Regions from separate parts of the Homo sapiens genome. Here region 2 is linked to region 1. The links are contacts of gene promoters, found by promoter capture Hi-C in blood cells and fetal thymus (Javierre and others, 2016). All regions are on one chromosome and are shown on one strand. Each heading gives the region's core, a stretch centred on a gene start or on the middle of the fragment in contact. The rest is flanking DNA. Distances are from core to core; before and after follow the strand shown. Region 1 holds the start of TRANK1 (tetratricopeptide repeat and ankyrin repeat containing 1). Region 2 has its middle 5.6 kb from the start of GOLGA4.

What was found. Contacts are between HindIII fragments. The CHiCAGO score rates a contact against its expected background, and 5 or more counts as called.
Region 2: a fragment that was not itself captured here is called in contact with the fragment with the promoter of TRANK1 in region 1 in 5 of 17 cell types (neutrophils, total CD8 T cells, erythroblasts and 2 more); the score reaches 8.0 in neutrophils.

Annotation. Positions count from the first base shown.
Region 1 is chr3:36,942,329-36,947,175 of GRCh38, forward strand. It overlaps TRANK1 (tetratricopeptide repeat and ankyrin repeat containing 1), which reads right to left and starts at 2,726. Exons shown (of 24, transcript NM_001329998.2): 1 at 2,459-2,726. The coding sequence starts at 2,481. RefSeq lists a silencer at 2,374-2,593 and an enhancer at 2,824-2,893. The HindIII fragment of the contact is 7,723 bases long and covers 1,616-4,847 here.
Region 2 is chr3:37,235,201-37,240,216 of GRCh38, forward strand. No RefSeq gene overlaps it. Among named protein-coding and RNA genes, the nearest start is that of GOLGA4, 5.6 kb to the right of the region's middle. The HindIII fragment of the contact is 2,731 bases long and covers 657-3,387 here.

The DNA of each region.
Region 1 (4,847 bases), core at 1,476-3,975:
CTTTCTGGGCCTTAATTTCTTCATCTATAAAATGATCGTGGTCCAGCTCTTGATTGCAGCTGTGAAATTCTGAGACAAGACCCAAAGAATCCTTTTAGAAAACTATGAATCCAAGGCTGCAGTAGGGTTGCAGCATCTTCCCTTCTTCTTCCTCAAAAAAAAAAAAAAAAAAAAAAAAGAACAGGAGCTATTATGCCCCTACCTCCCTAGCATTTACACCAGGCCCCACTGGGATCCATGCAGGAGGCCAGCTCTCTGTGGACACATAGCCAGAACCAAAGTAACCAGAAGCATCTGCGGTCTGTCTTTGTAGATGGTACTGGCTTGAACCACACAGCCATGTCCTACAGTATTCTATCACTCAAGTATGAATTTCAGTCTACTTCATCACTCCTACACCAAGTCCTCACTTCCAAAGTCAACTCCCCTGTGAAATGCTGACGGTCTCCTCATACTCTGGGAGAGCGGCGGAAACAGAACCTGCAGTTGCCCCATAAAGCTGGTCAGTCGGTCATAAAGTGAAGTTAACAATTTATGACCCGCTTTAAAAAAAAAAAAAAAACATAGAATGGGCCGGCGTGGTGGCTCTGGCGTGTAATCCCAGCACTCTGGCAGGCAGAAGCGGGTGGATCACTTGAGATCAGGAGTTTGAGACCAGCATGGCCAACATGGCGAAACACCGTCTCCACTAAAAATACAAAAATTAGTCAGGCTTGGTGGCGCCCCACCCCCGGCCCCCCGTAATCCCAGCTATTTCGGAGGCTGCGGCAGGAGAATCGCTTGAACCCAGGAGGCGGAGGCTGCAGTGAGCCGAGATCGCCTCATTGCACTCCAGCCTGGGTGACAGAGCGAGAATCCCTCTGGTGGGGGGTGGGGGGAGGGAATAGAATGGAAAATATCATTGTGCCTCACCCTGTAGAAAGAATAACTATACCATGAAGCTCTTGCTGCAATTTTACATGTGTATGTGTGTGTGCGTATATATGTATATATAATATTACACACATATTATGCATATATACATTATATACATATAGGTGGGTGGGTGTGGGTCTTGATCGAAAAAAGACCTAGAAACCCATACATAGGCCAGTGGCAGTGGGATGCGACTCTGGGAGTGAATGCCACACACACCTATCCCACCTCTACCCACCCCCCCACCCCCCGCAGAGGATGCAAAAGCCAACAAAGAGCATATGAACTCAAGCACCTATCCTGCAATCCTACAAAACAGACCTGCCTGGAAAACAGTTGAAACAAACTCCTGACCACCGTCCCCGCCCTCCAACACACACACACCGTAGTACTTTTTTTTTTTTTCTATAAAGGACCAAACAGGATGCCATCCGGATAACAGCCTTATATCAAAAAGGATCCTGGAACCCAAAACGCTCAGCACGAGGGAGCAGGAGCGCATACCTACGCTGGGAACACAAGGCTTTAATCCCAGCTATTCCTTCCCGCATAAGGACTAACTGAGCCAGCAGCAACTGGGTTGGAGCAGATAGGGGAACTAGAGACCTCAGAGCCCCATTCTCTTTCTGCTTCTTAAATTTTTTTTTCTTTTATTTTCCAAATTGCACACTTCCATAAAAATTTTCCTAGGAAGCACCAAAGCTTTCAACTGCCCAGAAACACCCCGATCTGGGAGAAAAGGTGGCTTGAGCTGCACCTCAAAGATGGGCTCTATCTCAGCCGGGTTGCAAGTGCACAGGGCTCCCCGCGGGACGGAGACAGGGAGTTGGGAGGAAACGCAACGCGCCTCCCAGGCAACAGACTCCGAGCTCCGGTTCGGAAACGCTCCGAGGCAGAAGCAAGGGCTTCTAAGGGCTCCGCTTCCCAGCCTTGGGTCCCTACTACTACCTTCCCCCTAGACTCGGTGAGCCCAGGCTGATGGACCGTGCAGTCCAGTTTGAGCCAGCCCAGCAGCCCTCAATCGGGCGGGCAGGGAAGAAGGCCTCCTACTGCCGGGAAGAGGCCAGCGCGCTCCAAGTTCCCCGCAAATTCCGCCCTTCCCGCCTGGCACGGTTCCCTTGCACCGCTGTGCTCCGCTCCCAGGTTTCTGCCCGCCAAGAATGCTTGCCCCGGGGGCGCGCTCGCTGGTCAGGAACCTGTCGGCAGCCCCCGGGAACCCCTGAGGATGCGGAGGTGGGCCCGAGAGCTGCGGCTTCGATGCCGGGGTGGGAGCTAGGCAGGCCGCGCGCCGCCGCAGTCCTGTCGCAGCGCGTGCCCTGGTCCCTCCGGACCGAAAAGGCCGAAGCCGTCCCCCGCGACCGACCCCGCGCAACTGGCTCGGGTCTGCACCTAGATGGCTGTGGGCCCCACAGGGATGGCCGGGCGGGCCCGTTCGGCCGCTACCTCAGGGTCGCCAGTCCCCGCGCGCGGCCGCCTCCCGCCAGGAAGGGTGGCGGGCCCGGAAGGCCAGAGATGCCCCAGTGCTTCCCGCGCCGCTACGCACCTAGCTGCCCGCGGGTCCCACATGGCTGCGGCCGGAGGGTCCGCACCAGGACCGCCGCCGCCTGGGGAAGCGCTTCCCTGTGGGCAGGGCGCGGCGGGCAGTGCGGAAGCCCGAAAGCTACCGGAGCCCGGGGCAGGGGCGGCGCGATGCAGAGGCGGCGTTCGGGGGCCCCCAGCTGCCTGCGGCTCGGCTACCCAGCCGCGATCAGAGGGGGCGGGGGACGCAGGAACCCCGGCGTCCGGGCGGTGTGCAGCCGCAGACCTATTCCAAGTTTCCACGTAGTTGCGAGAGCCCAAAAACTGTCACGTGCACGTCGCTGCTGAGTGGGAGGAGGTGTTTGTCATCGCGTTCAAAAGGGGCGTTTCGGTGTCTCCCGTCATGCAAGCAAATGGTATGGCTCTCGGCCGCCTTTGAATAAACGAGTGCTTCGAACCCTTTACCAGGAGGGACTAGGCGCACAACCACCTCCGACACTCCTCGGGCATGCGAGAATTCGGCTTTCCTTAGTGGGGCCCATCAATGTTGTCCGGGAGGTAAAGAAAGTGATCGGCCAACGGCCTCAGCGTGGGTTTTCTCCTTCCCTCGTTCCTCCCTCCAACAAAGGACGTACGGAGAACAAGCCCCCTAGCTCCTACAGATGAGGAGCTCAGGAGTCGGGCGAATATCAAGTACTTACTGTGTGCTTGCCCCTCCACTCTGGGGAGGCTGGGGGTCCGGGAGTGAAGGGGGCAGCGAGACCGCGGGCTGCTCCACGCTCACCGTCGTGTCCATGGAGAGTAAGTGCGCACAGGCCTGAGCAGGCAACAAAATGAGGATCTTGCCTTGTCTTTCCACCTCCCCAGTGATGATCGACAGAGTAGTGGGTCGGAGAGGACCACCTCTGGCTGCTACCTCCCCAGCGGTTCTCGGCCTAGGGAGCCGGTTTGGTCTTCACAGCTTCTCTGGGCCTGGGAGTACTTTCCTACACACCAGAGAATCCACCCAATCAGAGAGCTAAGCCCGCCGCCCTCCCCTGGGGCAAGGTTCGGCCTACACTGCATCCCGGTGGTTCGCCCATCCTTCTGGGGGACCACCACACCAGGCTGCCTGGTGGCAGGGAGGACACCACCAGAGCTTTAGTGAGGGGGACCACACATTTCAGCGAAACAGAGAGGCTTTGGTAACACGTGGACACACCTAAGGCACACAGTATACTTCTCTCCACTGGTCATTCTGCGTTGTGAACTAGTCTCAGTCTAGCTAGTGGTCTCCTTGCTTCTAGAATCTCACAGAGATTTCTGTGCATTGATCTTCCCCAAACATCAGGATGAATCACGTACAGTTCAAAAGCCATCAGTGGCACTCCATTGTCTCCTAGAGATCAGGTTAGGTACCCGGGCATTTGAGATTCTTCTTCACAATCTTGCCCCACATTTCCAATCTTAGCTTCCTCATGCAAACTCTATACTGCAGTGCTTCCCAACCTTAGTTACACAATAGAATCACCTGGGGAGCTTAAAAACAAAAACAAGGCCGGGCGGGTGGCTCACACCCGTAATCCCAGCACTTTGGAAGCCTGAGGCAGGCGGATCACCTGAGGTCGGGAGTTTGAGACCAGCCAGACCAACATGGAGAAACCCCATCTCTACTAAAAATACAAAAAAAAAAAAAAAAACCCAAAAATATGCGTATGTTTGGCTTTTACTCCCAAATTGTCTAATTGACATGGGCGTCAGGAATTTTTGTTTTTGTTTTTGTTTTGAGACAGTCTCACTCTGTTGTTCAGGTGATTCTCCTGCCTCAGCCTCCTGAGTAACTGGGATTACAGGTGCCCGCCGCCTTGCCCGGCTGAATTTTTTAGATTTTTAGTAGAGGCGGGGTTTCACCATGTTAGACAGGCTGGTCTCAAACCCATGACCTCAAGTGATCCACCCACTTAGGCTTCCCCAAGTGCTGGAATTATAGGTGCAAGCCACCACACCCAGCCACATCAGGATTTTTAAAAGACTATAACATGCTGCAAAGTTTGAGAATCACTGCTAGCCACCAAATAGTTGGACTACTTGCTATTTCCCAGACATCATTGGTCCTTTCACTTTTAGGATACTTTCCATATCCTTCCTCCAATACTTTTCCCAACATCCCCCAATTCTATATTTAGGAAAGCACATGCCACCTCTTCTAGCATACCTCTTTCTGTTGGTGATTTTTGGGTTTGTTCAGTTTGGGTTTTGGTTTGGTTTGGTTTTGGTTTGGGGTTTTTTGGTTGCGGGGTATTTTTTGGTTTCGGAGATATTTTTGGTTTTGGGGTTTTTTGTTTTTCTTTTTGTTTTGGGGGGTTATTTTGTTTTGTTGTTGTTGTTGTTGTTATTTTTGCCAACTTCAAGGAGTCTACTTCCAGAAAGCCTAG
Region 2 (5,016 bases), core at 772-3,271, 290 kb after region 1:
CATATTACTATGGACAAGTCATTTTTTGGTTCTTTGTGTCTATTTGTCAAACAGAGCCAATAAGAGTAAGAAGTAGCTCTTCACTTTTCCATAGTTTATTTACTTTATGCCAGTAATGGGCATTAAATTAACAACAAACATTTGTTTAAATTTTTAAATTTTAAATTAAAAAAAAATTTTTTTTTGAGACGGAGTCTTGCTCTGTCACCCAGGCTGGAGAGCAGTGGTGCGATCTCAACTCACTGCAACCTCTGTGTCCCAGGTTCAAGCAATTCCCCTGCCCCAGCCTCCCAAGTAGCTGGGATTACAGGCATGTGACACCACGCCCGGCTAAGTTTTATATTTTCAGTAGAGATGGGGTTTCACCATGTTGGTCAGGATGGTCTTGAACTTCTGACCTCATGATCTGCCCACCTCAGCCTCCCAAAGTGCTAGGATTACAGGCGTGAGCCTGTAACAACAAACATTTTTAAAAACCCTCTAAAGATAAGTTATACCAGGCTGAAAAGTTGGCTAAATTCCAGAGAGTCTAAGTTTAGACTCTGATGTGTAGAACTTTCTTCCATGAGAGGTTTTCCAACTGTTTTATAATTAAAATTTACATAGCCTTACAATATTCTCCTGTAAAAGTAAATATTAACAACATAACATTTCGAAGCTTTCTAATGAAGTATATTAAAACAATATAGTAATACAAATATTTCAATTTCTACATCTTTGTTACTTGTTACAACAAAAGTCTCTCTTCTCCCACCTCCATATCTTGAGTAGAACTGTAATGAAAGGAAGTAAGAGCTGGGGTCATAAAATATGTGACACCTACCCTAAATTCAACTCATTCCCCCCTCTCCCCCAACTCCCATCCCGTAAAACCCCTTGGAAGCATAAGCATCAAGATCCCCAGGGAACTGCAGTCATGCTGTCCAGGCTGAGACCAGTAACAAATGGAGAAGTGTCCCATAGCAGAGAGGTGATTTAGCAAAAGTAAAGAGACAGTGAGAAGAACACATAACTTGGAAGATGAAGGACTATTTTACTTCCCTAAATATACTTAGAGGGAATTGTCCCTTAGGGGAAAAGGAAGAGCAAATATCTGGGTTACATGAATTGTGTAATACAATGTGAAAGAACTATGATAACATACACACTTAAGATGACGTTTTAACATTGCTTATAATTAAATAAATGGAAACTACAACAAAAGTAAAATACGATTCACCATCTTTTTGACTGACAAAAAATTAAAAACATATTCATAAGGGCATTTCCCACACTATCAGTAGAAATATAAATTGCTATACATTTTGGAGATCAAGTTGGCATTAATCATGCTCATTGGATGGAACTCTCAATTATACTTCTAGAAATCCATTATTTTCTTTTTTCTTTTTTCTTTTTTTTTTTTTTTTGAGACGGAGTCTCGCTCTGTCGCCAGGCTGGAGTGCAGTGGCACCATCTCGGCTCACTGAAACCTTGGACTCCCTGGTTCAGGTGATTCTCCAGCCTCAGCCTCCCGAGTAGCTGGGACTACAGGGGCGCACCACCATGCCAGGTTAATTTTTGTATTTTTAGTACAGACGGGGTTTCACCACGTTGGCCAGGAGGGTCTCAATCTCCTGACCTCGTGATCCACCTGCCTTGGCCTCCCAAAGTGCTAGGATTACAGACGTGAGCCACCACTCCCGGCCAGAAATCCATTATTTTCTACAGAAACATACACACTAGTATACAAACATTTATTTATAAAGTTGCTCACTTTAATAGTTTTTTATTAGCAAAAAACAGGAGAGAAGCTAAATGCCTACCAATTAGAAATCTTAAATTATAATTCATACATAGTATAAAATACTATGCAGCCATTAAAGGGATTGAAATACATATACTGATTAGAAATGATATTCATGGCATATTAATTGAAGAAAGCAAGATATGGATTTTGTATAATCAATTTTTCATAAAACAAAACTAAATATATTTATGTATAATTAAATGTATATATTTCATATATTTTATGTATAGATAATTAAATGTATATATTTTATAAATACAGAAAAATTAAAAAAACGAAAAATGAATTACTAATAGAGGTTATTTGCAGGAACCAGATTACATTTGTTACAGTGAGCATATTACTTTTGTAACAAAAGAAGATAAAAATTCAGTGTGATACATACATTAACAGCATGTAAGACTGAGGCTGTATAGAGGAGAGCATGATTAACTCCACTGATATGTGTGTGTCGGGGGTGGTTTGGGGAGTGGTATTAGAGAATGCTTGAAAGAGATTATGAAATATGAGCACAGCATTGTCCAGGGTAGAGAGGCAAAGTGGAAAAGGAAGAAAGGTACAGTCAAGGAGGACAATGAGTACACTGCCGTACTCATGATTTTCACAACTGCTCTATATAATTTGTAGACCAAAAAAAAGAAAGGCAAGCACGTATATAAAAGCAGGTTGTGGGCCAGGTGTGGTGGCTCACGCCTGTAATCCCAGCACTTTGGGAGGCTGAGGCAGGCGGATCACCTGAGGTCAGGAGTTCGAGACCAGCCTGGCCAACATGGCAAAACCGTCTCTACTGAAAATACAAAAATTAGCGGGGCGTAGTGGCATATGCCTATAATCCCAGCTACTAGGGAGGCTGAGGCAGGAGAATCGCCTGAATCCAGGAAGTAGAGGTTGCAGTGAGCCGAGATCATGTCACTGCACTCTGGCCTGAGTGACAGACTGAGACACCATCTCAAAAAAAAATAAAATAAAATAAAAGCAGGATGTGGCTAGGTGTGGCGGCTCACACCTGTAATCTCAGAACATCAGGGAGGCTGAGGCATGTGGAACACCTGAGCCCAGGTGTTGGAGACTAGCCTGGGCAACACAGTGAGACCCTGTCTCTCTCTCTCTCTCTTAAAAAAAGAAAAAGCAGAATGTGCCAAGGGAACCCTGAGTTAATTTGACATTTCTGGAACTTTGAAGTGTGAAGAGTGGCCAGGGTTTAGTAAGAGGGAAAGCAGGAGCCAGGCTGCTGAGGGCTTCTTGTACTGCCTGGTAGCACGAACACTGTTATGTAGGACAAGGTGACCACTGATGGGGTTGCAGCAGGAGAGTAACATCAGCTATGTGGAAGATGGATTGGAAAGAAGCAAAACTGGAAACTGGGGGGCCATTTAAATGATAAGCTATAATGAAGACTGAAACTAGTGGCGGGGTAAATTAGGAAAGCAGATGGATTTCAGAAGTATTTCAGAGGAAAATACACAAGACTTAGTGATTCTCTGGATATGGGTGATGTATAGAGAGAGATGTCTTGATTGACTTCCAAACTTTTGGCTTTGGTAACTGGGAAGATGGAGATTACACCAGCCAAGGTAGAAAATATAGATGAAAAAACAAGCTTATGAAAAGGAGAAGCAGCAAGAGGGTAAGAGGAAACACAGAAGGGACAAGCCTGATGGTGATGGTAGAGGGGTAGTAGCAGATGATTTTGTTTTTGGAGATGTTGAAGGTGAGATGCCTGTGGGCCATTAAGGAGGGCCATTAAGGGAAGTTGCCCAGTTGGCCATTAAGGCAAGTGGATGTATTAAGATTAATTGTTTTTTTTTCCCCCATTGGTAGTGTATTTAAAAAAACAAAACCCTGGCATAGTGGCTCACTCCTGTAATCCCAGCAATTTGGGAGGCGGAGGTGGACGAATCACTTGAGGTCAGAAGTTTGAGACCAGTCTGGCCAACGTGGTGAAATCCCGTCTTTACTAAAAATACAAAAATTAGTTGGCTTGGTGGCACAGGCCTGTAGTCCCAGCTACTCATGAGGCTGAGGCAGGAGAATTGCTTGAACCCAGGTGGCGGAGGTTGCAGTGAGCCGAGATCGCGTCACTGCACTCCAGCCTGGGCAACAGAGTAAGACTCTGTTTAAAAAAAAAAACAAAAAATACTAACTCTGTAGAAATGTAGTGTCAGGCCCTGTACTAGCACTGACTGGGATGCATGACAGACATAGTTCTTGGCCCTGCTCAACCTGAGAGCCCAGTGGAGATGCTATAGTCTAGAGCAGGGGTGTCTAATCTTTTTGCTTCCCTGGACCACACTGGAAGAATTGGCTTGGGCCACACATAAAATACACTAACAATAGCTGATAGCCCCCCCCAAAAAAATCACAAAAAAATCTCATAATGTTTTCAGAAAGTTTATGAATTTGTATTGGGCCACATTCAAAGCCATCCTGTGCCACATGCAGCCTATGGGGCCGTGGGTTGGACAAGCTTGATCTAGAGCTCAGGGGAAAGGTGTAGGCTGGAGTTCTCAACATACAGAGGGAGAGCGTTATGAGTGAGAATTAAACTCTTAGAATTGATAAGTTTCATTTACTGTGAATTGTACGCTTTACGCATATCATCTCATTTGAACTTCACAACAATCCTATGAAATAGTATTAAATTATTAAAGATGAGGAAAATGAAATGCAGAGAGCTAAGACTCAGAGGTCACAATCTGGCCTTTGGGCTGAATTTTATTCTAAGAGTTGTTTTGTTGCGTTGATTTAAAAATGCCTCTAGATGTGTTCACACTGTCATTTGTTACCTTCCTACATTTTCCATTGTCTTAAATCCTATGTATATGTGCTTTACTCATAACCTCTTGTTCCCTTTAGGCATTTGATTTTGTATACTGTGGTTTGCTTAAGTGCCAAAGGTTAAAGAACTAGAAAATGGATGACTTTTTTTATTTTTTATTTTTTGAGACAGAGTTTCGCTCTTGTTGCCCAGGCTGGAGTGCAGTGGCACGATCTCAGCTCACTGCCACCTCTGCCTCCCAGGTCCAAGCGATTCTCCTGCCTCAGCCTCCTGAGTAGCTGGGATTACAGGCATCTGCCACCATGCCTTGTTAATTTTTTTTGTATTTTTAGTAGAGACGGGGTTTTGCCATGTTGGCCAGGCTGGTCTTGAACTCCTGACCTCAGGTGATCCACCCGCCTCGGCCTCCCAAAGGGTTGGGATTACAGGCATGAACCACCGCACCCTG